2 separate regions of the Homo sapiens genome follow, and region 2 is linked to region 1. Evidence: promoter capture Hi-C in 16 types of primary human blood cells and fetal thymus (Javierre and others, 2016). All regions are on one chromosome and are shown on one strand. Each heading gives the region's core, a stretch centred on a gene start or on the middle of the fragment in contact. The rest is flanking DNA. Distances are from core to core; before and after follow the strand shown.

Region 1 (5,026 bases), core at 1,836-4,335:
GATGAGAAAATTGTGTTTCCAAAAATATAAATAATTGATATTTTTGGAAACACAATTTTATAAATAATTGATATTGACCTGGGCTCCAATAGAGTAGCTGGAGCTCTTTGGTTTTATTCATGGTCCGAATAAGTTAGAGAACCAGAACTTGGCAACCATCCAAGTAGGTAGGCATCATTGTTCAGGTTAAGGAAGGGACCACTCATGAATGAGATACCACCACAGACAAACACAGGTAGCTCCTCCTTCAGGCCTTTCCCCAGCCACTCTCCAAGCATGGTACCTGAGTTCTATAGCCCACCACTTTAAGAATGATGCCCAACTCTGGGCCAAGCATGTGTGAATTACAATGGAGCTTCTAAGGGAGCAGGTAAAGGGATTTTTCCCTGTTTAGCTTTGATTCCTTTCTGTGTAGTGATAGAGATTAGTGACACATTTATGTGGTCTAGAGTAAAAAGGATAGAAACATATCTTACATGTGTAACTTAAACTCTAAGCTAATGAGATGAGAAGGGAAGCTATATCACTGTTTCATTTTGGCAACTTATTTTTCCTGTTTCATTATTAATCCAGATTTCCCTCTTCTAAATTTTTTTTAAAGAAACAAGATACTACAGTTAGAGTAGAAGCTTCCTTCCATCCCATGACCATTCTTCTATTTCCTGAGGTGACTAATATTCTGAAGTTGATCTGTATTTATTCCATTCACATATTTTATATGATACACCATGTATGATTATCAAATTGTTTTATGTGCATTTTAAGAGCTACACAAATGGTAGCATTATATAGTTAACACATCAAGTTCTACGTTTTTCCCTTACATTTATGTTTCTGAGATTCAGTCTTGGTGATACACATAAGCCTAGTTTGTCCTTTTTATGAGTATACAAGAAAATATAAATTCAGTGAGAGCAGAACTTTATTTTATTCACTGCTCTGACCTAAGTAACTTGAGCAGAATATTTCTTTAATGAAGTAGTGAATTTGAGAGAATGAGTTAGTGTATATAAATGAATGAATTAATGTACAAATGAATGTGTGCTATTAGCTTATATTTTTTCCTATTTCTGGCTTTGTCTGATTTTGACATTAAGGTTATTCTGCCTTCACAAAATGAACTGAGTAGCTTTAAAACATTTTGTATAAATGTATATTTATTCCGCAGGATATGCTAAGGTCTAGCACTTTCCTCTGGGTAGATCTTGATGAATGATTTGATTTCTTTAATGTTATAGTTCGATTACAGTTTCTGAAAATTTTCTTCTTGAACTATTTTTGGTAGTTTATGTTTTTCTATACAATTATTCCTGTTGTCTCCATTTTTAGATTTAATGGTGTATTAGTTTACTATTGCTACTGCAACAAATAACCATAAATTTTGTGGCTTAAAACAACACACATTCATTATCTTACAGTTATGGAGGTCAGAAGTCTCAAATGGGCTAGTAGATCCTTTTTTATGCCCATTCTAGCTTCCAGAGATTGCCCACATCACTTGGCTTGTGTTTGTTTTTACTCTGACCCTCCTGCCTCTCATTTGTAAGGGCTCTTGTGATTATAGTGTACCCACCTGGATAATCACGATACTCTCCCCATCTCAAGAGTCTTAGCTGAATTGCATTGGCAAAATCCCTTTTGCTCTGTAAGGTAACATACTCACAGGTATTAGGAATTAGGATTCGGACATTTTTTTGGGGGGGCATTATTCTATTTACCACAATTGGTATCATATGTTCCATTGTGTTTTCTCCTGCCTCTCTAGATGTGTTGCTTTAAAAAAATTCAGGCCGGGTGTGATGGCTCACGCCTGTAATGCCAGCGCTTTGGGAGGCCGAGGCGGGCGGATCACGAGGTCAGGAGCTCAAGACCAGCCTGGCCAACATAGTGAAACCCCGTCTCTGCTAAAAATACAAAAAAAATTAGCCGGGCATGGTGGCGGGTGCCTGTAGTCTCAGCTACTTGGGAGGCTGAGGCAGGAGAATCGCTTGAACCCGGGGAGGCGGAGGTTGCAGTGAGTCGAGATCGCACCACTGCACTCCAGCCTGGGCGACACAGCAAGACTCTGTTTAAAAAAAAAATTCAGAATGTGTTTATTTCTTCCTCTATCATTTTCTCTTCATTAATTTGTCTATTTTATTAGCTATGCCCTGACAGTTTTGACAGGGTTGTGGGATATAGTAGAAAGGTTGGAAAGGCATGGACAGCCGTGCTGGGAGTGCTGTTCGAGTAATTTTCTGCCTCCAGTCATTTCCCACTACTTCATCAAATACAACTACCTCACTATGCTCTGGGTGGTACGAAGTAACCCATGGTAGGATGCTTCCCAACTCAGTGTTAAAGGTAATGGTGCATCCTGAGCTTTCTCGCTCTGCATCTCAATCCTGGAACTGGTAATTCTCTATGACTGACACCTCTGAGCTCCCATTCTCTCCTATCTCTAGGGAATACCTGAGGAGGTGAGGTTTCACCTTCTTACTCCCCGCGGCCCAACCCCCGTCCGCCCCTCCCCCGCCCCGCCCCTCGCCCCCCAGAGCTGAGACCTGGGCATGCGCATCAGCCGCAACAGATTGGAGGGGACCCTGCTGCTCACTCCCCTGCTACCCTCCTCTCTTCCCTCCCCCGACCGCTCTCATATTCCCGTTCCCACCCCCACCCCCCACTCCCGCCCCGCACCCGCCCCTAGCCCGGGCTCGGGGACCTGTCAGGCTGGTTTCGACAGCTGGGGAATTAACCTGTCCCGCCCATCCCTAGCCTCGAGCCGCGCAGGCTCCGCGCCTCCGCCCTTGTTCCCTCCCAGCTCCTCCGAGTGGAAGCCGCTACAAATGGCTTGAATGAAACGTGTGTGGGTTTAGTGAGTGGTGAACCACCAGGGGATCCCGTCTCCCCACAAACCAGTATCTCTCCGAGGAGGAGGCGAAGGAGTGGGAGGAGGCAACGAGCCGAGAGTCGAGCTTCGCGGGCGCGCGCAGCGGCTGGAGCGCGGGGGCGAGGCCGGGCCACCTCCCCTTCCCGGCCGCGCACTGCCTGGCCCGCGGCGGTTCCAGGCACCACCCTTCCCGTCCGGGCTGAGCCCGCTGTGGCAGTGACTAGCTCCCGCGGCTAGCGGCACTGTCCACCGACGAGCGGCGCCCTCTTCTCCCCCTTCTCCCCACGATTTCCTTCTCTGCGGCGGCACGCCGTCCAGCAGCCTGCTTCGCCCCGTCGTCAACTTTGAGCTGGAGGAGAAGCAACTTTGGCAGTGGCCGCGGGGTTGGAATCCCGCTTCTCCTCGGCAGCAGTAGGCTCGCAAGTCGCTGGGGTTAGGTGGGGCAAGAGTTTCGCCGGCGCATCAGCGCTGCTTCGGACTGTTTGCAACGTGTTTCCAGCGAGCTGGGAGCGGGGTTGTGACTGCGAGTCGTCTGGGGGAGGGGGACTTGTTTTTCTTTTCCTCTAGAGACCTCGGCTTGCAACTGGATCAAACGCTGTCGAAAGGATGTAAATAGGCAGAGCAACTGTTACCAAGAAGGCCACCACCCCCACCCAAAGGCAGTGAGGAGTGTGGGGCTTCGTCTGGGCTCCCCCGAGTCTCAACAGTAATCAACAGTCAGGTGTTGATTGCAACTTTTCAAGGTCAGCCACCGGGAGTAGCCTATTCCCTCTAGGAACCTTGGAGGGCATACCTTGCTGGGACTCAACTTGGCTGAGAAATGCACAAGATGCCAAAGGAGGAAGGATTATAGGGGGCGTGTGTGTGACCCCCAAGACCGATCTTCCGCTATCACCCTAATCTCCGGTTCCCCGCTACCCGGGCGGGGGTGAGTATGTGACATGTGCCTAACTCTCAGCAGCAACTTCGGCAGCAGGTGTCGATCCTAACTAAGCAGGAGCTGCGGCTGCCGGGTGTGCCCTCACCAAGCCATGCGAGCCCCGGGCGCGCTTCTCGCCCGCATGTCGCGGCTACTGCTTCTGCTACTGCTCAAGGTGTCTGCCTCTTCTGCCCTCGGGGTCGCCCCTGCGTCCAGAAACGAAACTTGTCTGGGGGAGAGCTGTGCACCTACAGTGATCCAGCGCCGCGGCAGGGACGCCTGGGGACCGGGAAATTCTGCAAGAGACGTTCTGCGAGCCCGAGCACCCAGGGAGGAGCAGGGGGCAGCGTTTCTTGCGGGACCCTCCTGGGACCTGCCGGCGGCCCCGGGCCGTGACCCGGCTGCAGGCAGAGGGGCGGAGGCGTCGGCAGCCGGACCCCCGGGACCTCCAACCAGGCCACCTGGCCCCTGGAGGTGGAAAGGTGCTCGGGGTCAGGAGCCTTCTGAAACTTTGGGGAGAGGGAACCCCACGGCCCTCCAGCTCTTCCTTCAGATCTCAGAGGAGGAAGAGAAGGGTCCCAGAGGCGCTGGCATTTCCGGGCGTAGCCAGGAGCAGAGTGTGAAGACAGTCCCCGGAGCCAGCGATCTTTTTTACTGGCCAAGGAGAGCCGGGAAACTCCAGGGTTCCCACCACAAGCCCCTGTCCAAGACGGCCAATGGACTGGCGGGGCACGAAGGGTGGACAATTGCACTCCCGGGCCGGGCGCTGGCCCAGAATGGATCCTTGGGTGAAGGAATCCATGAGCCTGGGGGTCCCCGCCGGGGAAACAGCACGAACCGGCGTGTGAGACTGAAGAACCCCTTCTACCCGCTGACCCAGGAGTCCTATGGAGCCTACGCGGTCATGTGTCTGTCCGTGGTGATCTTCGGGACCGGCATCATTGGCAACCTGGCGGTGATGTGCATCGTGTGCCACAACTACTACATGCGGAGCATCTCCAACTCCCTCTTGGCCAACCTGGCCTTCTGGGACTTTCTCATCATCTTCTTCTGCCTTCCGCTGGTCATCTTCCACGAGCTGACCAAGAAGTGGCTGCTGGAGGACTTCTCCTGCAAGATCGTGCCCTATATAGAGGTAATGCCTTCCAGGGGCTCTCAAGCTAGTGGCTTTATCTGTTTTCGGGATTATAGCATCAGAGAACTGCTGCTGGATGCACCTATCTAGCTGAACGCCTTTC
Region 2 (5,026 bases), core at 1,347-3,846, 1.2 Mb after region 1:
ATGCAACTGTGAATAGAGATAGTTTTACTTTTTCCTGTCTCTTCTGGATGACTTTTATTCATTTTATTTTCTTGCCTAATTCCCTTAGCTAATATTTCCAATATATTGTTGGATAGAAGTGGTGAGAGTGGAAAAATATTTGTCTTGTGAATGATCTTAGCAGAAAAGAATTGCCTTTCACTCTTAAGTATGATGTTGTGGGGTTTTTCTAAGCATCTTTATCAGGTTGAAAAATTTCTCTTCTTTTCCCAGCTTGTTGTGTGCTTTTATCATGAAAGCATGTTGAAATTTGTCCAATGCTTTTTCTGCATCTATTAAAATTATCATATAGTTTTTGTCCTGTATTCAATGGTACATTAGATTAATTGATTTGGGGATGTTAAACCAACTTTGTATTTTTGAAATAAATATCATTTATTTGTGGTGTATAATTTTTTTTTCATATGCTACTGAATTTGGTTTGCTAGTACTTTTCTGAGTATTTTGTGTTTATTAATAAGGGATATTGGCCTGAAGTTTTATTTTCTTTTTTCTTTCCTTTTTTTTTTTTTTTTTTGTGAGACGGAATCTTGCTCTGTCACCCAGGCTAGAGTGCAATGGCCCAATCTTGGCTCACTGCAACCTCTGCCTCCTGAGTTTGAGTGATTCTCCTGTCTCAGCCTCCAGAGTAGCTGAGATTACAGGCACACACCACAAGGCCTGGCTAATTTTTGTATTTTTAGTAGAGAGAAGGTTTTGTCATGTTGGCCAGGCTGTCTCAAACCCTTGACCTCAGGTGATCCTCCTGCCTCAGCTTCCCAAAGTGCTGGGATTACAGGCATGAGCCACCAGGCCCAGCCGAAGTTTTCTTTTCTTGTTGATTTCTTTGTCTGGTTGGAATCAGAGTCCACACCTGGCTGAAGTTTTTGTTTCTTGTTGATTTCTTTGTCTGGTTGGAATCAGAGTAATACTTGCCTTATAGAATTAGTTGTTAATTGTTTCCTCCTCTTCTATATTTTGGAATAGTTTCTTAAGTGTTATTCTTTAATTGTTCAGTGGAATTTACCAGCGAAGCCATCTGGACCTGTGCTTTTCCTTCTGGATAGGTTTTTTTTTTTTTCTTGCTAATTCAATTTCTTTAATTATGTTAGATCTAGTCAGATTTTTCTTTATGCCTTCTTGAGTTGATTTAGGTAGTTTGTGTTTTTCTAGGAATCTGGCCATTTTATCTACTTTATCTTTTTTAAGCATAGTTGTTCATAGTATTCCTTCTTATTCCTGTTTATTTCAGCAAGGCTATTAGTGATGGTTCTTTTATTCTTGCTTGTATTAAATCTTCTCTCTTTTTTTTCTTAGTTTCACTAAAGGTTTGCCAATTTTGTTGATCCTTTTAGGGAACCAATTCCTGGTTTCATTGATTTTCTTTATTGATATTCTGTCTCCTTCTTTTCTAATCTTTAATATTTCCTTTCTTCTGTTTGCTTTTGGTTTAGCTTTCATTTTTTCTAGTCTCATGCCTCTAATGAAAGGCCTCATCTCTTCCAACTCATTCTCTTCAACTGTTGCCTAAGTTGTTTGTATATCTGAAACATAAATTTGATGGTGTCACTTAGAAGCTTAAAAGTCTTCTCATTGTTCCCATTCCTTAAAAAGTAAAATTCAAATTTTGTATAATGGCAAACAACACCTTTCATAATCTTAACCAGTTTACCTTAACAATCAAACCCACCTTTCCAATCACATAAAATCACCTGGAATTTATATATACATTTTTAACCTCTTTTCCTTTGTACTTGTGTTTTCTCAATTTGTTCTTTTCTCCTACTGACTTTTTAGAAAGTCACCCACGCTTTTTAGTTATTTCCTTTTCCCTGGTACCATCACACTTTGCATCAACTTCTTTTAGAACAGTTACCAAATTATTTATTAATACACGCCTTCTTCATTATTCTTTGAATTCCAGGATGTGAAATCCCATTTTAGAAATTATGTCCCAGTAACTGACACATAGTGAGTGGTCAGTGTTTGTGGAGGTAGGAAAAAGTGGTATGGTCTGATATCATTTCATCTGGAAATAAGATGATGTATTTCAGCCAGTGAAATCGAAAAGAGCGATGGAAAATGACCTCACACTCCATAGGGCTTTGGTTCGTAAGACACAGAGAATACTGATATCCTTGTGCGAAGAACTAACTTGCTGTTGAGAGATCAATTCAGAGGATGCTCAAGCTCCGTTATCACTTTCATTTTACTAAACTGAGAAAGGAAGGTTGAGGAATGCATCAACGGTTAAGCACAGTGCAGGTTCCTACAGCGACTGGAGTTTTTTGGTAGTTGGGAGTGTTTCCCTCAATCTTTGGGCAAGCCGTCAGCAGTGGCAGGAACAGGAACAGACAGCTGGGAAACCCTTTCTTTCCCCAATCGTCTTCTAGCTTAGCTTTAGGCTTGTATGCCCATCGCGCATGCGTCAATTTTTCTCTTTTAAGATGGGCGGGGCAGAGTCTTTGCTCCTTTGGCGATCCTGAAGGGGTGGAGCTAAGCTGTTTCCAGGGTGACAGAGTGGCGACCTCGGTGGTCGATTGAGCAGGTCTGAGAATTGTTCCCAAAGGGTTGTGCGTCACCGAGTCGTTGGCGCTGTCATGGCGGGTGTGCTGAAGAAGGTGAGACGAATGGAGGTCACTGTTGGAATTTAGACTGTGGGGGTAGACTCAGTCCGATAGCCCTACTTCCCGCGGGTGTTGACCCCTACTGTCGCGGGCTCGGCGGTGCTTTTCGGGGACTCGTTCTGCATGCCTTACCGGGTAGGGCAGGTTAGTGGTTCCGCTCCGAGAGTCAGGAAAAAAGCTCCAAACAAGCGAGACTGAGAGACCAGTAGCTGGCTTTAGACCAGTTTTAGCCGGGGGATTCGTGGTTTTGTATTTCCTTAGCGTGCTGGATGTATGGAAACCGTAGTAAACAGCATGAATCGTGTTTTGTTTTTGAACAGACCACTGGCCTTGTGGGATTGGCTGTGTGCAATACTCCTCACGAGGTATGTACCTTTGTTCTTTCTTCGTTCTTGAATTCCCAAGGAAGACTAAATTCCTGTCACTTTGCTTATTGCAGGGTTAACGGGATACAGATGTTTCAAGCCCTTAATTACAAGCCGCGTGAGCTCTTGAGACACGGGCGCTGTCCACCTACTTCGTTGATCCGATGTCACATTTTTATTTATTTTTGCCATGACCTCTTTATTAAGCCAGTTTTCTTGTTGACTTTTTCCTTGACATTTTCATGGCTTCACTTGTGCTTGCTTCTGTCAGCGCCATCTCAAATTTATATCTCCGTTTTCCATCTTTTCTCCTTGCCTTACCGTTTCTGCTTAGGTGCGTTGGATTACATATATTTAGGCTTACTAAAGGTACTGCCCCCTTTTCCTTCTGTTAGGTCTTTTCCATCTGTATTCACGAATGTTTTCATCAAAAAAACCCACAAAATTTTTTTATTCTTCTTGTCCCTTCTATAATCACACCATTTCTTTGCTTCACTTTACAGATAACTCAAAAGAGTTATCTCTATTTTCTCCAATTTCTTTCTTATTCACCCTTGAATGCACTCAGTCACCCTTGGCGTTTTTCAAGTTCACCAATTATCTCCATGCTGCCAAATCCAATGGTCAGCTCATATTTCTCACCTTCATTGACCTAATAGCAGCGTTTTTTGACACATTTGACACTTTTTCCATCACGCTCTTTTCAAGTTCACCAGTTATCTCCATGTTGCCAAATCCAATGGTCAGCTTATGTTTCTCACCTTCATTGACCTAATAGCAGCGTTTTTTTTTTTTTGACACATTTGACACTTTTTCCATCATGCGCTTTCTTTACTGGGCTTCAGGACTCCCCCAGTCTCCTGATTTTTTCCCCCTACTCTTTGGCTTTCTCTTTTTCTGGTTATTTCTCTTATGCCCACTTTTAAAATTTGAGTTAGTCAGGATTTAGTTCTTGGACCTTTTCTTTTGGACCTGTACTCTGTCACCAAGAGAGAGCAAATCCAAATAGAGAACGGTTTTAAATACCACCTATACACTGACAACAGATTTCCATGTAAAGCACTGACCTCTTCCTTTATAAAAGTCCTGAATATTTAATTGCTTAGTGGGCATCTCTATTTGTATGTGTCAGACAGGCAACCCAAACTTAACATGTCCAAAATGGGGTTCCTGATCTTCTGCCTAAAACCTGCTCTTCTCTCAGTCTTGCTCATCTCAATTAATGGCAGCTCAATTATTTTGACTCAGGTCAGAAACTTGAAATCATCTTTGATTCCTTCCTTTCTCTTACACTCCACATTTGTTATTTCAGTAAACCCTCTAGGTTCCACCTTCAAAATATATCTTGATTTTGACAACATCTCACTACCTCCTCTGCTACTACCCTCTTCCTCAGTCACCATCATCACTGATGTGGATAATTGCATTCACTTCTTAACTGCCTCTCAATGCTTGTCACAGCCTCCATTTGGTCTTTTTTTCCAGCCAGGCTACTAGAGTTAGTCTGTTAAAATATGAGGTAGGTCAGATCTCTCCTTTCCTTAAAACTAATGGCTTTCCATTTCACTCTAAATAAAGACAAGTTTCTTACTGTGACCCTCTGGTTCACTATTCTACTGATTTATTTTGTTATGTCTCTACTAGAATGTAGGTTTCATGAAGGCAGGGATTTGTAATTGTTTCACTGCTAGAACTCTGTCACATAGTATGTGCTCAGTAAATAGTGTTAGTTGAATGAGTGTCTTGCACTTCCTATGATTTCATAATAACTTTATTGTCATTGATGTAAAGAACTGAACTCATGGTTTTTCCCTTCTAAATATATTTCTTCCTCTGTGGGCTGTATTTTTCTTGATAGTTTCAGATCTTTCTACTCCCTAGGCTGGGAATTTGGACATCATAGTTGGTATTTCTCTTATACTTGTACTCTCATATTCATTCCAATGATGATTTTTATTTTTATTTTTTTTGCTGATCCTTTTCTATAACAGCTCTCCAGTCTGACTTCTGTTTACT

The links. The method cuts DNA at HindIII sites, captures the fragments that hold promoters and counts their contacts. A CHiCAGO score of 5 or more calls a contact.
Region 2: a contact is called between the fragment with the promoter of NDUFA5 here and the fragment with the promoter of GPR37 in region 1, in 7 of 17 cell types (M2 macrophages, M0 macrophages, M1 macrophages and 4 more). The highest score is 15.0, in M2 macrophages.

What each region holds. Positions count from the first base shown.
Region 1 is chr7:124,763,851-124,768,876 of GRCh38, reverse strand. It overlaps GPR37 (G protein-coupled receptor 37), which reads left to right and starts at 3,085. Exons shown (of 2, transcript NM_005302.5): 1 at 3,085-4,923. The coding sequence starts at 3,901. RefSeq lists a silencer at 2,944-3,073. The HindIII fragment of the contact is 5,609 bases long and covers 632-5,026 here.
Region 2 is chr7:123,555,388-123,560,413 of GRCh38, reverse strand. NDUFA5 (NADH:ubiquinone oxidoreductase subunit A5) reads left to right here and starts at 2,596. Exons shown (of 5, transcript NM_005000.5): 1 at 2,596-2,639; 2 at 2,966-3,010. The coding sequence starts at 2,619. RefSeq lists enhancers at 2,119-2,258, 2,519-2,568, 2,309-2,887, 2,124-3,323, 2,888-3,466. The HindIII fragment of the contact is 10,047 bases long and covers 1,598-5,026 here.